Regions from separate parts of the Homo sapiens genome. Here region 1 is linked to region 2. Evidence: promoter capture Hi-C in human tissues and cell types (Jung and others, 2019). All regions are on one chromosome and are shown on one strand. Each heading gives the region's core, a stretch centred on a gene start or on the middle of the fragment in contact. The rest is flanking DNA. Distances are from core to core; before and after follow the strand shown. Region 1 holds the start of MIEF1 (mitochondrial elongation factor 1). Region 2 holds the start of PDGFB (platelet derived growth factor subunit B).

The links. Contacts are between HindIII fragments. The study calls those that stand out against the background at their distance.
Region 1: a fragment that was not itself captured here is called in contact with the fragment with the promoter of PDGFB in region 2 in 2 of the 25 tissues and cell types used here (dorsolateral prefrontal cortex and lymphoblastoid cells).

The regions. Positions count from the first base shown.
Region 1 is chr22:39,500,199-39,506,332 of GRCh38, forward strand. It overlaps MIEF1 (mitochondrial elongation factor 1), which reads left to right and starts at 2,092. Exons shown (of 6, transcript NM_019008.6): 1 at 2,092-2,239; 2 at 4,005-4,336. MIURF (mitochondrial elongation factor 1 upstream open reading frame) reads left to right here and starts at 4,033. Exons shown (of 1, transcript NM_001414695.1): 1 at 4,033-4,245. The coding sequence starts at 4,033. The coding sequence ends at 4,245. LOC105373035 (a long non-coding RNA gene) reads right to left here and starts at 1,962. Exons shown (of 3, transcript XR_938263.4): 1 at 1,836-1,962; 2 at 1,066-1,394; 3 at 294-370. RefSeq lists enhancers at 1,872-2,373, 2,231-2,280, 2,374-2,873 and a silencer at 2,381-2,490. The HindIII fragment of the contact is 4,490 bases long and covers 1,564-6,053 here.
Region 2 is chr22:39,243,732-39,250,188 of GRCh38, forward strand. PDGFB (platelet derived growth factor subunit B) reads right to left here and starts at 1,251. Exons shown (of 7, transcript NM_002608.4): 1 at 170-1,251. The coding sequence starts at 232. The HindIII fragment of the contact is 11,810 bases long and covers 1-6,457 here.

The DNA of each region.
Region 1 (6,134 bases), core at 2,559-5,058, 260 kb after region 2:
CCCTGAGGTTTGGGTCAGTGCCCCCTGCCGTGGGTCTCTGGCCTACAAAGGCACCATGGGTACGTACATGTAAGTGCTAGATACCACCTCACTGCCCACACTCCATTGCCACGGAAGCATCGGGGGCAGGGAGAGGCCTTGTCAGTCTAAGTAAAGATAAGACCCTGAAGAGCAAGTGGATCTAGAGGGGCTGATCCGAAGGGGAGACCCCTCCAAATGACCTCCCTCTGTCCCTCCCTCCGAAAAATAACATTCCATAGAACAAGAAAGTCAGGAGAGATATGAAGAGGTCATCTGGTATGCCGATGGAAATGCCACCAATTATATTTATTTGGGTCACAAAATTCTTTAAAAAGCAAATTAGGGCAGCCTGAAAGAGTGGAAAGAACACACATTTCAGAGTAAGACAGACTTGGCTTCCACTGAAAGCTTCTTTCCTTCTTAGCTCAGTGTCTTAGAAACTACTATGCCTCTCTCCATCTTGGTTTTCTTTTCTTTTCTTTTTCTTTTTTTTGAGACCGAGTCTTGTTCTGTCGCCCAGGCTGGAGTACAGTAGCGTGATCTTGGCTCACTGCAACCTCTGCCTCCCAGGCTCAAGCAATTCTCCTGCCTCAGCCTCCCAAGTAACTGGGATTACAGGTACAATGCCACCACTCCCGGCTAATTTTTGTATTTTTAGTAGAGATGGGGTTTCACCATGTTGGTCAGGCTGGTCTCGAACTCCTGACCTCAAGTAGATCCGCCCACCTCAGCCTCCCAAAGTGCTGGGATTACAGACGTGAGCCACCGTGCCCAGCCCTGCAACAGACTCTTGATTGGTCTCCCTGCCTCAGCCCTGGTTCCATTCCGTTATTCTCAAGCCAGACAGATCCCATTGAAAGGGAAGTCAGATCCCAGCACTTCTTGGCTCTGAACCCTGCTGTGGTTCCTTTGCACCCGCCATCTCCCTCCCAGTTCTGGTAAGGGCCTCCCCTCTGGCCTCTTTCCCAGCTCCTGCTCACTCAGCTGCGAAAGCACTGGCTTTCTCCCTGTGGCTCCTAGACCACGCTGAGCTTAAAGGCTTACCTGGGGGGAGGCCTGAAATGCTCTTCCCTGCAATGTTCTTCTCCTGGTTCTCGTCCTTTTATCAGATAGCCTGACTATTCTGCAATTGCCCACCCCTCTACTGGTAGATATTACCTTTTAATCCTCACCACAGCCCCAAGGCTGGGTGAGGTTAGGAAACTTGGCAGAGGGCAGCTGTCCCTAAGTGGTGGAACTGGAACTAGGAGCCAGCGGTGGCCCCGGTGGCCCCGGACTCCAAAGCCCCAGGCCCTGGGCTTGGCAGAGCCAGGCATGGAGGGAGGCAGTTGGGGGAGGGAGCTTCCATAGAGACACGGCCTCCGTCCTCAAATCTAGTGAGAGACAGAGAAGCAAATGGATAAATTACAGTGCCTGGCATATGGTAGGCGCCAAGAAATACGTTTTGTTGTTGAACAGATTATGAGGCGTAAGATGTGCAGACATTTCCGTGGGGCCCAAAGAAGGCACGTGAGTGTGTTAGAGGGAGGCGAGGAAGGGGCTGGGAGAGATTTCCCAGTGAAGGGGGGCATTTGAGGTAGACTTTGAAGGAAGGGTAGGAGTTTGCCAGAAGCCATGGGGCCTGGGGAGTAGGAACAGCATGGAGGGATGAAAAGAAGGCGATCTGAGAAAATGGGTTTTGAGGAGCTCTGAATATTAGTGTTAGAATTCCCTCAGGTACCCCAGGGCCCCAGCCAGAGATCAGCATATACAGTACAGGAGGCTGGCCAGGTACCCCGACAGGCTAAGGGGTTGCCAGCAGGTGAGGGGCCTACCCGGTGCGGCAGCCTTGTTGGACAGCGAGGCTACCTCCTGCCCTCTGAACTTCTGCCAGCATCGGGACCACCCCGGTACCCACAGCCGGACCCGGACACCGGAGTCCTCTGGGGGCGGGGCGCGAGTGGCCTCTGCAGGCCAGTCCCTTGGTGAGGTCACACACGGAGGCGGGGCTCAGGATTGGGGGGCGGAATCATGCGCAGGGGGCGGGGCCCGAGAGAGAGCTTGGAGAAGACCGGAAGTCCCTCCGCCTCCACTCGCCCTCGTGCTCCCTTCAGCCCCTTCGCAGCTCCGTGCGCAAGGTCGTGTCCCGGAAGTGAAGGGGCCATGTTGATGGGTGACCCGGGGAGAGGTACCCGGCCAGAGGCGAGTCCTGCGGAGTGGTAGCGCGCACGGCCTGCGGGTGAGTGAGAGAAGGAATGAGGGCCGCCGGCGGCTGGGCGGCGGGGAGGTTGCAGCGCCTCCTCTCAGGCTGCTGCCGGCGCCTCGCATGCGGCCCGGAGTCAGGATACCAGCATGCAGCCGGGGGTCTCGCCCCATCCCGCCCTGGACTTTCCCCTGGGAGACCCCTCGGCTGCCCCGCCCCGCCCCAACCTCGGAGACCTCCAGTGCCCCGAAGCAGGCCTGCCCTGGCCTCTGGGCCTCCGCACCCCGGCCCGGCCCCCACGGTTGGTGAAGTGCAGACTGGCTGGGGCTCAGCCGCCCAGTCGCCCAGCGACCTTGTAGTTACAGCCCTCGCCGTGACAGTCGCCTTTTACAGCATCAAACACTTCTGTTGATTTTCTGCATCGGGAGGTCCTTAGGGCCGAGGGATCTCTTAAACAGTTGAGGAAAAATGGGCAGGGATGGTGGCTTGCTCAAGCTTGCGCAGGAAGTTAGCAAGGCCGGAGGCTAAGGGCTCGCGGACTTTGGGCCCAAAGTCCAATCTTTTTTTCCAGCCAAATACTTCCCCCACTTGGTGTCATTTCTTTATTTCTGAAACGGAGGTGATCATTTCTTCCACATAGGGACGTTGTGAAATTCTCTCCGTTACGCATAATTTTGAGCCCCTTGTATGTGCCAAGCGCTGTGCTGGGAAAGTTCGTGGAGCACCCAGAAGTGCTGTACACACGGTCCGGCTCCAGCAAAGGGTAACTCATTCCAGAGGCAGGCAGAGTTGGGGTCAGGAGTGCAGCCCTCCCCTTGACAGCTGTGGGCCCGCGGGCAAGTTACTTCCCTCTGGGAGATTGTTTCCTCCACTTAAAATGGGGTAATGTTGACCCCTAGGGTAGCTGACAGAATGAGTTGTTATGTGAGACATGCTTCGAACATTGCACGTTGTATATAGTGCAATATAATGCAATAAGCATTTACTGTTACTAAGAACCCTGACCACCTTCTAGATTCTTAATTTAAATGTGGTCATGGGCAACAAAGCACTTTACAGATATGCTTGTGTAAGGGTTTATTGTTACTGAAGGAAGGCAGTGGCAGTTTATACTTAAATGTAATTATTTATTGAGCATTTACAAACCTGGCTAGGTGCTACTAATAATATCTGCTGTTGATAGAGTGCTTCGTGTGTGCCAAGTGCTGTTCTAAACATATTCACATACATTAAACTCATTTAGTGCTTATGCCAACCGTATGGGCAAAATATGATTTTTATCCTCACTTCACAGATGAGGAACTGAGACAGTCACAGAGAGGTTAGGAGACTTGCCCACGGTCATGCAGCTCGTAAGTGCTGGTGCCAGGATTCAAGTATGGCTGAGTGCTTGTCTTCAACCCTCCTAGATCACCCCCTGTGGTGAAGTTCTATTACCGTTCATTACGTGCACAGTTCTCAAAATAATCCTATGTGGTAGGTACTATTGCCATAATATCCTAATCTCCATTTTATAAGTGAGGAAGCTGGTGCTCAGCGGGGGTTCAGTCCTTTGCCCAAAGTCATATGGCAAGTAAGTGGCAGGGCCAGGATTTGAGCCCTGGTGAACCACAACCTGTATGTTTCCAGAATGGGCATCCAGAGGCTGGGGTCTCTAGTTCTAGTCTTGCCATTAAGTCATACGGTGACCTGGAGCGGGGGGTCTCTGGAACTTGGATTAAAAAGCCCTCACATAGTCTCTACAGGTCCTTTTGTTATTAATTCTGATACTAGGCTTGTATGTCTTTCCTTCTGTTTATAGTGTGACACCCAGCCCCTGCCAGTCCCCCATGGCCCCGTGGAGCCGAGAGGCGGTGCTGAGTCTCTATCGGGCTCTGTTGCGCCAGGGCCGACAGCTTCGCTACACTGATCGAGACTTCTACTTTGCCTCCATCCGCCGTGAATTCCGAAAAAATCAGAAGCTAGAGGACGCTGAGGCCCGGGAGAGGCAGCTGGAGAAGGGCCTGGTCTTTCTCAACGGCAAATTGGGGAGGATCATTTAGGATCCTCCAAGGGAAAGAGGACAAAGGTGCCTTCTGTAGACACTCCTGCTCTCTTCCATCCCCATCTTACAGATGTATTAAGAAGCCTCAGGTACGTAGGCCCTCGTTCCTGTAGGTTTCCTTATTTTTTGTTGCAAGGGACCGAGAAAAGGATCAAAGTCATCCTTTTAGTCATTAGAAATCAGTGCAGAGCCAGGTGCACTGGTGTGCACCTATAGTCCCAACTCTGCAGGAGGCTGAGGCAGGAGGATGGCTTCAGCCCAGGAGGTTGAGGCTGCAGTGAGGTATGATTGCACCACTGCACTCCAGGCTGGGTGACAGAATGAGACCCTGTCTCTGGGGTGGGGGGGAAAAAAGAGGACATTTGAGGTCTGCCTCAAATGAGAAATAGAGGTTTACCAGCAGCAGGGCAGGAATAAGCAAATGCCTGGAGTGGGAACTGCAATTTTCTTTTTTAAGAGACAGGGTTGGCCCGGTGCGGTGGCTCACGCCTGTAATCCCACCACTTTAGGAGGCCAAGGCAGGAGGATCACAAGGTCAGGAGTTCGAGACCAGCCTGGTCAGCATGGTGAAACCCTGTCTCTACCAAAAATACAAAAAATTAGGCGGGCATGGTGGCGCATGCCTTAAGTCCCAGCTACTCAGGAGGCTGAGGCAGGAGAATTGCTTGAACCCGGCACGTGGAGGTTGCAGTGAACCAAGATCGCGCCACTGCACTCCAGCCTGGGTGACAGAGTGACACTCCGTCTCCAAAAAAAAAAGAGACGGGGTCTCGCTCTCGCCCAACCTGGAGTACAGTGGCATGATCATAGCTCTCTGGAACCTTGAATGCCTGGCCTCAAGCAGTCCTCCCTTCTCAGCCTCCTGAGTAGCTGGGACGCCAGGCATGTACCAATGTGCTCAGCTAATTTTTTATTTATTTATTTTTTTTGTAGAGACGGTCTTGCTATGTTGCCCAGGCTGCTTTCAAACTCTTAGCCTCAAGCGATCCTCCCACCCTTGCCTCCCAAAGCTTTGGGATTATAGGTTCAAACAGCTCTGCCTGTCCAGAAACTGCACTTTGTAGTCTGGAAACTTAAGTCTGATGTGGCCAGCATGGTACCCCTGTAAGGCAAATAGCCAGAGTTGAGGCTGGGCCTGGTCTGGAAGGACGTTGACTCCAAGTTGAGATTGTAATGTATATCTTCTTATGTGGGGACCATCACAGCTCTGTAAACAGAGGAATGACATAGCCACATTTGTATCGTAGAGGGAGCATACCAGTGGCAGTGTGAAGAATAAATTGATGAGAGATACTAGAGGCAGTGGATGTAGCCAGATCAGATTGAGGGACCGAGGGGTGGGGGTGGCCACATATAAACACAGTGTGTACAGCAGTGGGACTTGGTGATCAGTTGGCTGAGGCAGGAGGAGGAGAGAGAAAGATGAAGAGTAACTGGGTGTAAGGCCTGCCAGCTGGGTGGAGGGTGCTGCTTTTAACTGGGGGAGGGAAAGTAGGAAGAGAGCCTTATGTAATGACTTTTGGTTCTTCTCAGCCACTTAGGATTGGCATATCTGCCTTTGGCAGTACAGGGCCAGGGGTGGGGTGATGCCCATGGGAGCCTGTCTGCACAGGGAGGGTTGGCTAGCGGATCTAGGAGGGAATTAGGGCGTTCCTTGAAATCTTTGTGTTCCTAATATATTTTGGCTGTGAGTTGGGCTACACGCTGCTATCACTACCCCCTCAAAAAAACCAAGAAACAAAACGCCGTAGAGTTAATACTTCATTCCCACAACATATACTCCCTATGCATCAAACACTGCACACCCTGGGGATGCAGCAGTGAATGAGCCCAAATGTCCCCCAGAAGCATATGGTCTGGGGGTTAATGGAGTGGAGATGGGAACAA
Region 2 (6,457 bases), core at 1-2,500:
CTGTCACCCCCGGACCTCGCTCCCAGCCCGAAGAGGTCACCCAGCGCCCGGCGTCAGGCTCGCGGGCTGCAAGGGTCCAAAGTTCACTGCAGGGAGAGGAGGGGGCGGTCAGAAGGGGGGGGCGAAGGTAATGAATGAAGAACCAGCCCCAGCCGCCGTGGCAACTCACCTCGGCGCTGACCAGACGCAGGTAGCAGCAGAGAGACAGGAAGAGCGCCCAGCAGCGATTCATGCCGACTCCGGGCCCGGCCCCGCGGGGCCCCGGACGCGTAGATCGAGCGCGCCGCCCCCGCGGCCAGGGTGGGGGGCTGGGGAGGGGGGTGGGCTCGGCTCGGGTCCGCGGCGATCAGGCGCTCAGGCCTCTGCAGCCGCGGCTCACCCGCATGGCCCCCGGGCGCCGCCGCCCCCGGCCCCGGCTCCGTCGCTGGGGGGCAGGGGAGGACCTGGGCGCAGGACCTGGGTCCGAGGCCGCTACCTGGGCGGATCCCGAGCCCGAGTGAGCATCCACGGCCGGGGGGCTGCGTCGCGAACCAGCCGAGGCGTCTAGCCGTGTGGGGGCGCCCAGGGGACTCCAACCTCCAAGAGGAAAAGGAACACGGCAGTCGATGGTTCGTCTTCACTCGCCGGCTACAGGCGTTTTCCTCTGCCCGCCGGCTTAGCTTTTTTGCAACATTTTCTGGAAAGGCCCCCAAAATCGGAAAGCGCGGAGCTGGGCACCTCAAGGCCCAAGTCTCCCCCAAAAAACTTTTTCCAAAGTTGGCTTTGCAACGGCAGCTCGAGCACCCGGGCAGGGAGAGGTGCAAACTCCCGCCCGGGCCGGGTAGGGGGGCGGGAGCGTGTGCGCCCTGGCGCGGGGCCCGGGCGGCGGGCACGGCTGCTCCGCGCGCGCGGCGTGCCCGCTGCGCGCTCGGCTGGGCCCGGCCGACAGGTGGACGCGGCGCGAGTCCGTCGGTCCGTCTGCCCGCCCGCTCGCCGCTCTGGGCGTCCTCTGCGGGCTGCGGGCTGCGAGCTGCGAGCTGCGAGCTGCGGCTGCTCCGGTTTTCTCTTTGCAGCGAGGCTGGAGGGTGGGCTTTTTTTTTTTTTTTTCCTTTTTGCGCGCGTATGTATGTGTGTGCGCGCAAAGTATCTCTATCTAGGGAATGAAAAATGGGCGCTGGCGGCCGGAGGGGAGCCCTAGGGAGGCAGCGGGGGAGGCTGCGGGTGCGCAGGGAGGCAGGCAGGCCGCTCCCGGCTGCAGGAGGAGAAGTTGCCACCCTTTCAGCTGTTCCGGCCTTTATAAAGGAGAAGGGAGAGTGCGAGAGGTGGGTGGAGACAGCCTTTCCTCTTCTGGCCCGGAGTCAGCGCCAGGAGGGGGGGGACGCGGGAGCTGGGGGAGGGCTTGGGGCCAGGGCGGGGCGCTTAGGGGGTCTCTGAGAGCCGAGCAACCCTTCAGTCCATGAATCTGGCCCTGGGGAAAAAAGAACTAGGGGTGACCCACCGTCCCGCCCCTCAGCACAGTGACCATGGACAGGTTAGGAGCCCACGTGGTCTAGGGGGATGTCTCCAGAGCCAAGGCCAGGAGTCCACGCTCCCCTCCAGGACCAGACATTTCCACCCTGGCACAGGCATGGCAGGGAGGGACTCAGGCTCTGCAGTCTGAGAGCCTGAATTCAGATCCTGCCCTGGCACTCGGGAGCTTGGGTCACCTTGGGCAAGTCACTTCCCTCTGTCCCCTCCATCTAGCCTCAACCTGGAGATGGGGCTATTGTAAGGACTCAGTGTTAGCAAGGGAAGACACCGCAAGGTGAACCCACAGAACCCGGCAGCCAGCGCCCTTCAGCTGCAAGCTGGGTCCGAGTCTCCTCCTCCTAGCTGGTTGCCTGGCACAACAGGCCCTGCCAGCGTTGGCTGAATTTGAATTTGTTGAACTGCAAAGTCACACAAACCCCCACAGCCCTGCAGCATCTTCGCAGGGCTACCAACATGATCTTCCCGTCAGTCACCCTGCTGTTTACTATCTCCCTCAGCCCCCGGGTTCGAGGCCCAGAGCCCACCCACCCACAACCAGCCTTCACACAGTTAACGCCTTCTGCCCCCAGTCAGGGAGCTGCTGTGTCCCTGCCTTCAGCAGTCACACTGTCTCAGTCACAGTCACACGTACTCACACTGGGCCCAGCACCCCCCTCGGGACACGCAGGCTCCTGCATCACCCAGCCTCCCGGCTTTGAGGCACCCTCATCTCCTCCGCTTGCACTGTCTCTGTTATCCGCCCTTCCCTTTGGGATGTCAGCCTGCTTCTCACAGAGGAGCACACTGAGAGAGTCACACCTGCTCTCTCTTCATAGACTGTCTTCTTGGACCTGGACAGGGTGGAACAGAGGAGGAAGGACATCTCAGGTGGTCTTTACAGACCACTGCAGGCACCCACCCACTGCTGCCTACCACCCAGCAGCGTGGCACAGTGGCAGAGACACAGCCTGAAGACACATCACCTTGGTCCAAATCCTGGAGTGGCCACTTGCTGGACAAGTGTCTGCAGGAAGGTTTTTTAACCTCTCAGTACCTCGGTTTCCTCCTTTATAAACTGGAGATGAATTTATAAACTGGAGCTGGGTGTGGTAACAAGCTCCTGTAGTCCCAGCTACTCAGGAGACTGTGGATCGTTTTGAGCCCAGGAGTTTGAGGCTGCAGTGAGTTGTGACTGTGCCACTGCACTCCAGCCTGGGCAACAGAGCAAGACCCTATCTCTAAAGAAATAAAAATAAATCTATAATGGGAAGGAGTGAGAGAGAACAGAGAGGCATGGCAAAATTTTAGTGGTGATGGAAATGTTTGTCATTTTTGATTGTGGTGATGGGCTTATGGGTGTATACGTACATCACAACAAAATGTGTGCAGTTTGTTGTACCTCAGTGCAGTTGTAGAGAATTTTTACCCTGCTCCTGGAGTGGTCTGGAGGCTCCCATGAGGTCCTCCATGTGGAGGCGCTCAGCAAAACACCTTAGCAGGAAGCAAGCGCCTGGAACCTTCCATGCAGCCTTCAAGTTCACTGGTGGCCCCGCACTGCTCCAGGCACTGGGGAGACAGGTGTGAACCAGCCTAATGCAGGCCCCTGCCTTTGAAGAGCCCCATTGAGAAGGACAACCAGATGTATAAACAGATAAATTAGGAGACAGGGTGACAAGGGAGATGGGGCAGCGGGACGAGGAGATAACCCCCAAACACTAGATTTGAAGTCTAACGACTCAGAGATAAAAACCCTCTTCCACCGGACAGCTGGGTCATTTGACCTTGACCTTCTGTGTCTTCTATAAATAGAATGGTAACAACTACCATGATTAGTGAGCTGACTATGTGGTAGCTAGTGTTTTTCTTACTCTACCTGTAGCCTCTCCATGCTCCTGTGAGATGTGTTATTCCTATCTTACAGATGGGGAAATGGAAGCACAGAGAGGCCAATACACTTGTTCAAGGTCACACAGCCCGTAAGTGGTAAGGCCAGGACTTGAATCTGAGCAGTCCAGCTACAGAGCCCACATGCTGAGACCACCGTGCTGTGCAATTTTCTGGCAGGTGATGCTGATGACAATGATGACACTTTTGACACAGCGCTTTGGTGAGCGCCACATGCATTAATATGTGGGAACCTGCTCTGCCAGCTAAAAAGTGATGGACCCATATGAACTCTGACTTAGGTACAAGTTGAGGGAGAGGGAAGGCTACTCAGAGCAGCATCGTAGAACGCCTACTGTTTGCAGACCCTGTGTGAAGCGCTGAGAAATGGAATGAGGAAGGAGTCCCAGCCTCGGCACTCAGGGACTTCCCATGCTCTCAGTGAGATAGACCCAAATCATTGCAGTGCAGGTGCCAGTACATGGGTTAGAAGTGGCAGAAGAGGGCCCAGCAGACACCTGGGCCTGAATGCTACGTGACACCTGCGTGACACCTGGGCCTGAATGTTGTGCTAAGGGCTCCTTTCTTGTACCTTCTCTGTGCAGAGGAACAGTCTGTAAAGAACACCTCCCCAGGCACGGTGGCTCACCCCTGTATTCCCAGCAATTTGGGAGGCTGAGGCCAGAGGATCATGTGCAGCCAGGAGTTCGAGACCAGCCTCAGCAACATAGCGAGATCCCATCTCTTAAAAAAAATTACCAAAAAAAAAAAAAAAAAAAAAAAAAAATATATATATATATATATATATATATATATATATATATATATATATATATCTGAGTGTGGCCCCAGCTACTCAGGAGGCTGAGTCAGGAGGGAGAATCCCCTGAGCCCAGGAGTTCAAGACTGCAGTGAGCCATCTCAGAGACGGGGTCTCGGTCTGTCGCCGAGGCTGGAGTGCCGTGGTGCGATCTCTTCTCACTGCAACCTCTGCCTCCCAGGTTCAAGCGATTCTCCTGCCTCAGCCTCCCGAGTAGCTGAGACCACAGGCGCCTGCCACCATGCCCAGCTAATTTTTGTATTTTTAGTAGAGACGGTTTCACCATGTTGACCAGGGTGCTCTCGATCTCCTGACCTCAAGTGATCTGCCCCACTCAGCCTCCCGAAGTGCTGGGATTACAGGCATGAACCACCACACCCAGCCTAAAAATTTTTTTTTAATAACACCTGATCGTCTGCCTCCTGCCAGGCTGGGTGTAGCAGGCACCTCCTCCAGAAGGCCCACCAGGCTTGGCACTTGTTCCAGGCTCCACAGCATGCACACCTGGCATCGTCATGGCCTGATCATCAATCTAGCACTAGACTGAGTCCAGAGTGTTCAAGGGCCTCCTGCCAGCTCCTAGCATACAGTGGCTGCTCAGGAAGTGCCGCTCGCTGAAGGAATGAATAAATGATTAAAATCCTGCCAATTTCTCTTTCTGAGTCCTGACCAGTTATTGCAGAGATGCCAGGCCCTTCCTAAAGGGTGGAAAGAGTTGGGGAGGGGCTTGTAGCATGAGCCTCTAAGCTTGGAAGCACAGGGCCCCTGAAGGGCACCCCTTCTGGAGGTATCAGAACTGGGAAGGGTCTGAAGCCACACCACCCTGAATGCACGTGGTCTCATCTGACCTCGGAACTTCATCAGGGCTGGGTCTGAGGAGCACTTGAATGAGAGAACTGGGAAGGCCCCCGCCCATCTTCGCGTTCAGGCCACTGGGAAATAAGGTTCTCCAGCAGAGCTAGGGATGGGGGCGCCCACACCCCCGTAACTCTCCACCCTCCACTCCAGGACAGATCTGAGCCAAAGGGAAAAAGAGTGGCCACAGCCGTGGGGGATGGGGGTGCTGCCCAAGGTTGGGGGCTTTTTAGACTGTGTGCTCAGAGCTATCCAAGCCCTCATCCATGAAGAGCATCTTACACCCTGGGCGTGGGGGTCCAGGACACTGGCTGGGGTGAAGAAATACCAAGGAAGGAGTTGGGTTCCATCCCGGGGGCAAACTCACGCCCTCAAGTCCAGAAAGGTGAGAGCGATGATCACTGGGAGCCTCCCCGCCACTGAGAGGGGCCAGCAACACCTGGGCCAGGCAGCTCTGCTTCTCCATACTTGATGGAGAGGAAGTGAGGCTCTAAGCTGGAGACCGTCCAAGACCATGCCACAAATGGTCTGAAACTCCAAGCCCTACCCCACTCCGCGTGGCCCTCATCAGCTCCCCCATGCCCCTTGCTGCCCCATCCCCTGCCTCCCTGTCTACAGGGCCTTTGGCTGTCCACAAAGCACTTCCTTCCCCTCTGCCTGCCTCACCCTCACAGTCGCCCAGGGAGAAGGCATTGCCATCGTATATGCCCATTGTACAGATGAGGAAAGTGAGGCTGAGAGAGGGCAAGGGACTAGGCTTCCCGTCAAAGACCACCTGGGTTCAAAGCCCTGCCCTACCATCTACTAACTCTGTGACCTTAAGCAAATTCCTTAACCTTCCTGAGCCTCACGTTCCTCCTCTGTAAGTCGTAGGGACAATAGTCCCTACCTCACTGGGTTAAATGAGTTAATTCACCTGAAGTGATAAAGCCTGGAGTGAGCACCCCACAGATGTTGGTCATCACAGTGATGGTTATTACTGCAGGCTCTGCGCGCGCGCGCACACACACACACACACACACACACACACACACACACACCCCTACCTCACTTGCAAATTCACCTCTGAGCTCCAGAGCCAGCGCTAGGAGAGGGGCCACAGGTCTTCACCTGGAGAGGGTGGAGGTTGTTCTTACATAGAACTCCCGCCACTTCTCTCAGACCTTCTCACCCTAATGAGGCTCTGGCCACTGGCCTGTGAGTGCCAGGGAGGCAGGAGAGGAGACCCCCAGGAAGGCAGACAGATGGACCCCCAGGCCTAAGCCAGCCTGGAGGAGCCCACCCTGCGGCCTTGGGCCTTGTCCTGTATACAAAGGCGAGGGAAGCGCAGTGTTTGTTTTCCCAAAGCTGATGCATTTTTAGCTCCTCCAGGCTCCAGACAAGGAAGAGGATGTTTGGACGGGGCAGCTT